Linked DNA regions of Homo sapiens: region 1 is linked to region 2. The links are contacts of gene promoters, found by promoter capture Hi-C in blood cells and fetal thymus (Javierre and others, 2016). All regions are on one chromosome and are shown on one strand. The core of a region is centred on a gene start or on the middle of the fragment in contact, and the rest is flanking DNA. Distances in the headings are between cores, read along the strand shown.

The links. Contacts are between HindIII fragments. The CHiCAGO score rates a contact against its expected background, and 5 or more counts as called.
Region 1: a contact is called between a fragment that was not itself captured here and the fragment with the promoter of POLR1A in region 2, in 16 of 17 cell types (total B cells, naive CD8 T cells, naive B cells and 13 more). The highest score is 15.6, in total B cells.

What each region holds. Positions count from the first base shown.
Region 1 is chr2:85,864,236-85,868,237 of GRCh38, reverse strand. All of the region lies in intron 1 of ST3GAL5 (ST3 beta-galactoside alpha-2,3-sialyltransferase 5), which reads left to right. Among named protein-coding and RNA genes, the nearest start is that of ST3GAL5, 23 kb to the left of the region's middle. The HindIII fragment of the contact is 820 bases long and covers 2,297-3,116 here.
Region 2 is chr2:86,104,193-86,108,322 of GRCh38, reverse strand. POLR1A (RNA polymerase I subunit A) reads left to right here and starts at 2,437. Exons shown (of 34, transcript NM_015425.6): 1 at 2,437-2,623. The coding sequence starts at 2,547. It overlaps PTCD3 (pentatricopeptide repeat domain 3), which reads right to left and starts at 2,088. Exons shown (of 24, transcript NM_017952.6): 1 at 1,972-2,088. The coding sequence starts at 2,075. RefSeq lists enhancers at 1,778-2,037, 2,418-2,627, 2,828-2,917. The HindIII fragment of the contact is 4,349 bases long and covers 1,709-4,130 here.

The sequences.
Region 1 (4,002 bases), core at 1,457-3,956, 240 kb after region 2:
ATGTTCATGTAATCCAACCTTCAACTGCCACCTTTTCACCGAACAGAAAATCGCAAACAAAAGAAATGAGTGAAAACAGTCCAGATGGTGTCAAGGTGATCATGACTTTCAGCTGATAAGCCCTGGCTTCTCCAAGGGATCATGGAGAGGCCACTCTGCCGTTTGTCTGTTGTTCCCAGCTTGGCCCTTCTCTTGTGATGTTGAGGGACGTGGAATCCACATGGTCCCTTGCAAATCAGAAGAAGTAATGCCTGCTGAGCTGAAGTAGAGGGATTTGATGAAACTTCTTGGGAAGTCAAACTCTTATACTGTGGAGGCTAAAGCAATGCCATCTTGGATGCTAATCTGCCATGTTGACTTCTGACTAACCCCAGTCCCAGGAAGGCTTCTAAGGTTTCTACTTTCATATACTTACTGTAAATCTTGCCCTTAGGTCAAAACAGTCTTGCCGTTATACCATAAGTCCTGCCCTTCGGCAAATTCTTGCATTTTCCTGAGGGTTGGATGTCAATGTCCTATACATTCCTTCAGTATGGTATTTAAGACCTGGGTGTATACACCCTCAGTCTGGGGAGTAATAGCATGGGCAACCATTATCCTGTCTCGCCGCCACCCAGGACATGGCTTCTGTTCGTAAGTCCCCATCACACGTTTCTTTCTGAGAAACTGGATTCGTCAGCCTCTTCCTTGGCCTTTGGGGGTGGGTTTGCATATGCCTGCCCACCACAGAGCACATACCTTTAATAGATATATCCCAGGAGGTAACTACATGTGTAGATGCATAGATTTTTATAAAACTGCCTTTTTCTTATATTTTTCAGTGTCAATAAATGTGAAGTACTGAGTACTTTAAGCTAGTGCTTCTCAAACTTTAATATGCATATGAATGTCCCAGGATCTCATTAAAATGCTGAGTCAGCAAGACTGGGGCGGGCCTGAGACTCTGCATTTCTAACCCACTTCCAGGTTACACTGATGCTGTCAGTCAGAGACCCTGCTGTGTAGCAAGATCTTAAGGACTGTAGAGTATTCATGTAGTTTGTGCTGTAATTTACCAACAAATTTCCTGCTGTTGGACATTTTTGATGTTTCATTTATTATTATTTTTTTGTAGAGGCAGGGTCTCACTGTGTTGCCCAGGCTGGTCTCAAACTCCTGGCCTCAAGTGATCATCCCATCCCCGTCTCCCAAAGGTGTGAGCTACCACACCCAGCCATTTTAGATGTTTCAATAGAGTTTATGCTTTATTCTTGCCATTATAATTTCTGTTAACATTCAGTTTTAGTTTTACTCTTAATCAGTATTGAGAAAATGCTTTTCTTGGAAGTTTATCTTGTTTGATGACAGGCTACAAACATGTAATGCACATTTCATTCCATTCGAGATGTTTCTTAAGGGGCTGCTGTGTGCCAATCTCTGTCCTAGGTTTTAGGGATACAAAGGTGAACAGAGTTCTGGCTCTGCAGCTCATTCCTCCAGGAGTCTGCAAAAGAAAATTCAGTTCATTGTGGTAAACAGAGATAGGGACGTGCCCAGGGATGGATGTGGTGGTGAAAAATGACCTCAGAGATAAGGAAAGAGATGCTTGAGCTGGGTTTAAGGATGAAAAGTAGCTCAGCAGGCAGATTATTGGGTGGGATTCCAGATTGTGAGCACATCCTGTGCAAAGGCACTGAAGTAACAATTTGGCACATCCAGGTTTCTAACAGTACTTCTTTGTGCAGTGTGATAGACAGGTTTGTCACATGGAGTCACAGAATCTGAAATAAGCTGGGAACCAGTAGGCAGATATGTATTTTTGAAAGACGGCTTTGAGGCGATAAAATTGAGATCAGGGCATTCGAGGTAAGTGACTTCTATTAAAGGCATGTAGTGAACAGGAAAAATTCAGGAGGTATTATTGGCAGGCCCTGGGGATTGACTGGGGTTGAGAATGAAAGTCTGGTTGACCTGCAGGTTTTCATCTTATGGCTGAACAGATGGTTCAGATACCAAAGAATGAAAGGAATAGAAGAAAATGCCAGGTTCCATTTAGGAATGTTGCTTGAGGTGAAGATAGCAAACAAGACATTAGGTATACAGGTCTGGGCTTAGGTGAGAGGTCCACATTAGAGAGATGGATTTGGTCTTCAGGGAGCCATTGTCACCCCTAGTCTGAAGCTTGTACTTGTCACAAAGTTACTGGAAGTGCCACAGCATCTGCTGCCTAAAAACCCAAGAATCCGAATGCACACGACTGCTGCAGGAGTCACATGTAGACACCTTCCCTTGCCTGCTACTACTGCTATCCAAAGCTTCACCAAGTCAGGGGAAAAGAAAGATTGCCTCCCAGTCTTTCACCAGCACATCCTAGGATCACAACTTTACGAGAAGCCAGCTGGTAAGAGAGAGTTCGGAAAATATTTACAGGCTTATAGTCTGACGGGCAGAGTAGAACAAGAGCCAGAGCACTGTCTGGCTCAGCAACAGAGCACCTGGAGGCGGAAGCCCTGGAGTCTTTCTCATACTCTTACCACAGTCATCTTTGTTCTCTGGAGGTCCACTTTGGTGTGAACTGAGTATCATTCCAGTCATCTCAGAAGTTTCCATTTTAAATATGCACAGGCTACAGGTAGCCTGCTGATTCCCACCACTTGGCTGACTGTACATGAAGTAACCACAGAATTGTGGTATTTGAAAACCTTCCAGGATCTCAGTTGTTCTAACTTCTCATTTAATAATTCAGCAGATTCTTCAGCAAAGGTTTATTAATAAGGCCCTCAACACTTATTGAAACTATTTTGATAGAATTATACATAATGATAAAAACTCTTGCTACACAGAATTAGAATTAAGGAGTTAAGGAAGAGATTGTTTACAGTAGCAGAAAAAAAAAACTTGAATGCCTGTTTAGTTTAAGATAAACAGATTTTTTTCAAAGAAGATGGTAAAACCCTAACGGGAAAAATGAAGTGAATAATGAATGAGATATAACTTCTTCCATCCAACTAAAAACTATAGTGAAGACATTATTTCTTAAATTAATATATGCATTTATTATAATAGTAACTAGTGCCTATATTAGTTAAGATATAATTTTGCCTTTAATTAACCATTCCTTAAACAAGACAGAAGCTTATTCCTCTATCATAGACCAGTCCAGAAGTAGAGTGGCAGCTCTCTGCCCTATGGGATTGTCCCAGGGGCCCCAGCTCCTTCTCTTGTTGTTCCACCATCCTTGAGTAATGTCCTCTCTGTGTGGTCCAGAGTGGCAGATCATGGTCCATATTTCAGTCAGGAGGCAGAGGGGATACAGGAGAAGCCAGAGTATGCCAAGGGAAGCACCTTGAGAATTGCACAGGATGCTTCTGCTCATATCCCATTGGCTAAAACTTAGTCTTGAGTCCTAGCTCCAAGGGAGACTGGGAAATGTAGTCTTCATTCTGGGAGGTACTATGCCCCACTAAAAATCCAGAGCTGTATTAAGTTGAGTTAGGGGAAAGCGAATATGGGGGAGACGGACCAATCCCTACTACAGTACTATTGGAATATTATTTAGAACTTGAAAATTGCTAATAAAATTATTTCAAAAGAATAAATAGGCAGGCACACAACATATTTTTTAAGAAAAGTGTTTTTAAATTGCCATATTCTCTCTTTTTCTTTTTTTTTTTTGATGTAACACTTCTGCTTTTAATGTAACTTTCTTTTTAAACTTTTTTATTATATAAATTTTAACCATACACAGAAGTGGGGAGAATTGTGTAGTGAGCCCTAGACCCATCTCCCAGGTTTAGTAAGTTATCAGCTTAAAGTTAGTTTTATCTATTCTCCCTGGCCCTCCACTTATCCCCTTCCTGAGTTCTTGAAGCAGATCTCATTTTTGCTATTTGATCTGTAGATATTTCTGTATGTAGCTCTAAAAGGTAAAAGGTCCTTTTTAAAAAAAATAAACTTTAAAGTTTAGGATAATTGTATTCACATGCGGTTGTAAAACATAATCTGGAGAGATTTTGTGTATGC
Region 2 (4,130 bases), core at 1,188-3,687:
AATAGTCATTAATGAAGTACCCAGCTCACCTCCACCTATGTGTACTTTGAGCCCAAATTCTCCAATTATCACGGATTAAACTGGATAACTCATGTCAATGAACGCTGAGAAGACAGTCTGTACACATGTTCAATATCATTAAGGAATGGATACAAGATATGGACAAGACTGTCAAAACTTTTTTTTTTTTTTTTTTAGAGACAGGGTCTTGCTCCATTGCCTAGCCTTTAGTGAAGTAGTGCAATTATAGCTCACTGAACCCTTGAACTCCTGGGCTCAAGTGACCCTCCTGCTTCAGCCTCCTGAGTAACTAGGACTACAGGCATATGCCACCATGCCCGGCTAGACAAAAGTTTTGGAAGCAAGCAATCTCATTACATAAATGGCAGAGAGGGAGGAAAGTTTTTAATAGCACTTGAACAATCTGGTTTGAAATGAAGAACTTTCAACTTCAGGAACCCAAAACACTATGATGTTTAAAAGAACAATTCAGTGAGCTCTTGCTTCTATACAGATACTGCCCTGATCAGAAAGGACTACCTCACTTAAAGCAATTACAACATAGGGAAGATGACCCATGGCTTCTCATTCCACTTCTTTCAACAATCAAGAATGTACCAAATACATAAGGCCTGATTTAGACTTGGAATTGCTGATATTTTCTATTTTCAGAGGTTCAATATGAAATCCTTTTTAAACCAAAATATAGAATCATTGGCCCATGACTGAGTTTTTAAGTGTTCTGTTTAAGTGTTCTGATCACACTAAAAACACAGTCAACACACCACAGATAATGTGACGGTTAGTATTATCTTGTGTTTCCCCTTACTAAATGGCATCAGTAACATTCAGAAAATTGTCAAGATGTGATTGCACAGACAGATACTTCCTCCAGTAGTATCTGGTTTCAGGTATCATTTAAAACAAGAATACCCCTCTACGTTAAGGACATTTCAGAAAGAGATCAACTCTTTCAAGTTTCTGAGATCAACTCTTTCAAGTCACACTATTTGTTTCTCATGACCTTAAAACAGAGATCACAGTTATTTTGAGAACGGATGCTGAGGAAGAGATTCTGCTTCAGGCAAAGAAAATGAGTAGAAAAATGCTAACGATGGCTACCAGGAAACGGAGGACTGGCATTGAATGGCAGCACAAAGGTTTCTGCAGTATCAGATGGAGTGGTTTCTCTTTCTTGAGGGGAACTAAGGGAGAGTACATATAAAAACATATTGTAAATTACATACCCCACTTATACCTCACAAACTTTTCGGATGGTTATTACCAACTCTAGTCTGCAGATGAGGAAATCTGTCTATTATCATCCAATTAAGTGAATGGCAAACACTAAACCTAAAATTAGGCTTTTAGCAAGTTTTCACTACAAATTACTGCCTCTCATATTCCCACAATGCCACTGTTTGTACTGAGTGAAAAAAAAATTACACAGATAGGTCATACATGTTCCAAGCTATAACTATCACAGATCAAAAGGGCATAGTCAGATCTTTTAGACTTTTCTGCTTTTACGAAAACCTGATAACTTCTTTAGCCAAAGTCCCCACGGTGGCGACCAGAGACTGCCTTTTATTTGGGAAGATCTTGTACGTTCTCCTCGCTCCTCCTGATTGGGTTAAAATGAGTAATGGCGGATAATTTTTAATTTGGGGTAGTGTTGCTAATAGCCACACTCACTGGAACGCAAGCTTCATGAGAGCAGGGTCCTAGCTTTGCGGATGGTGTTAACTACAGAATATTGCAAGCAACCAATAAGTATTTCTCTAATGAATAAATGCGTTGCGAATCCTATTTCAAAGGGCCACCTCCGCGTACCTGGTCTTAAGGGCACGCGACCGTTAAGGGCGCGCATGAGCAAACCATTTCATCGTGCCTACTTCCACAGCCAGCTGGGAAACATAGGACTAAGGTGACTCCGCGGTCTTCTTCGCGGATACCCTAAGCGTCTCTTACCTGCAGCTGCGTGCCTGTTCACACAAACCCGCCCGCCGACCCGTCAGCGGCTGGCCAAGCCTGCTGCGGAGGCCCAGCCAGCGAACAGCAGATACAACCGCCATCTTTGATTTCTCTGCAGAGCATGTTGGGAAAGCGTGCCTCGACCTTCAGGAAGGTGGGGCGCAGTGGGCGGGGAGCAGGGAACAGCTCCGCTATTGGCTGAAGCGGAAGAAGACGAAAGCAATCATAAAATGGGAGGTTGCAAGCTCATGGTTTGAAAGACTTCGTCACGGAAGCTAAAAGCTCTATACACCCGATTTGCCTCGGAGGAATTTTCCTAAATGATTATTTTGATGTCTTATATATCTTTGATTGTTTTCAAAACAAAAGAGCGAGCAGAGAGTCGTACAACTATTTGTTCCCCCCCCATGTAGAAGTGATCTCATCCACGTAAATGTCGTTCCTGCGACCGCTTCCGCGCGCAAGCGCACGTTGAATCGCGTGGTGACTCCGGGCTTGAGGTTGAATTAAGAATAGTCAGGTGGTGAGTGGAACGTCTCTTGGGGTGTCGGAATTCAAAACGGACCTGGAGGATGTTGATCTCCAAGAACATGCCCTGGCGGCGGCTGCAGGGCATTTCCTTCGGGATGTATTCGGCTGAAGAGCTCAAGTAAGGAGTTGGTCGGGTAGCGTGCCCAGCCTGGATCTTGAGGTCGGCGCCCTAAACTACGATTCCCAGAAGCGCTTTTGCCCAGTCTATCCTCTTGAGTCCAGGCTTGTCTGGCGCTTGTCCTGCTGGGAGCCGTAGTTCTGGGAACGTTCCTGGGCCGGCGTGGACTGCCTGGATAAGAGGCCGGTGGTGCTGGGGGAAAGAGTTTGCGCTGAGGTAGGGGAATATAAGGGTGGGGAGGGTCCTGGTCTGCAGCGTTATCATCTGCCAGTCTCCTCGTTAACTAACAAGCATTTGTGGAATTAACCATAGTGTACCTGACATGGTTAATTAGGCACGTAGTAAGTTTCCTCTTGTTTGTAAAATGATTGTCCTTCAAGTGTCAGTTCAGGCGTTAACTTCTCTTTGCTAGGACCCTGCTATATTCTCGGTCTGGTTGTTAAATCAAGGGAACTCTCTTTAGTCTTCATTTTGATCAAGGTAGCATTTGACATTCTCCAATGCACTCTCTTGAAACTTTCCTTTCTTCCAGAACCTTATTTGTCTTCAAGTTCTCCTATTTTTATGACAAATACTTCTACCTCCCTCTCTTCCTCTATCGATCTATAACCTCACAAACATTTATTGAGCATCCAGTTTTTTCCAGGCACCAAGCTAGGCGTTAATGACACATTGGTGAGCAAGGTCTGTACCTCATTTTACTCCTTAAATGTTGATGTTCTTCAAGATTCTATTCTAGTAATGTTTTCTTCATGGTAAATATTGTCCCTAGACAATCTCACCACTTTCATGATTTATAGTCTCAAATTTAAATCCCCAACGCAAATTTATTTCCCTGATTTTCAGACCCATTTGTTCAGCTGTCTGTACATCTTTAATTGAATTTCACACAGAGATCTTAAATGCATATCAAAAACTCAACATGGCCTAAATGCATATCAGAAACTCAACATGGCCGGGCACGGTGGCTCACGCCTGTAATCCCAGCACTTTGGGAGGCCGAGGCCGGCGGATCACGAGGTCGGGAGATCGAGACCATCCCTGGCCAACATGGTGAAACCCCGTCTCTACTAAAAATACAAAAATTAGCTGGGCGTGGTGGCGGGCACCTGTAGTCCCAGTTACTCGGGAGGCTGAGGCAGGAGAATCGCTTGAACCCAGGAGGCGGAGGTTGCAGTGAGCCGAGATTGTGCCACTGCACTCCAGCCTGGCGACAGAGCAATACTCTGTCTCAAAAAAAAAAAAAAAAAAACTCAACACGGCATCCCTCTTCAAAGGGAGGGGTTACTTACCCCTCCAAAATGGTGTACGTAGTGCAAAATAGTCACTAGAAACTGGAAAATTATTCTAGATCTCTCCTGACATATAACTTATTTATTGGGCTCTTACTTTGTGTCACCTACATGTCTATTTGTTCTTAGTCTCCTTTTTCTCCCAATTGCTACTGTGTTGCCTCTGGCCCTTATCTCATATTTGAATTGTCTTTTCCTTCCACCCTCCCCTTACA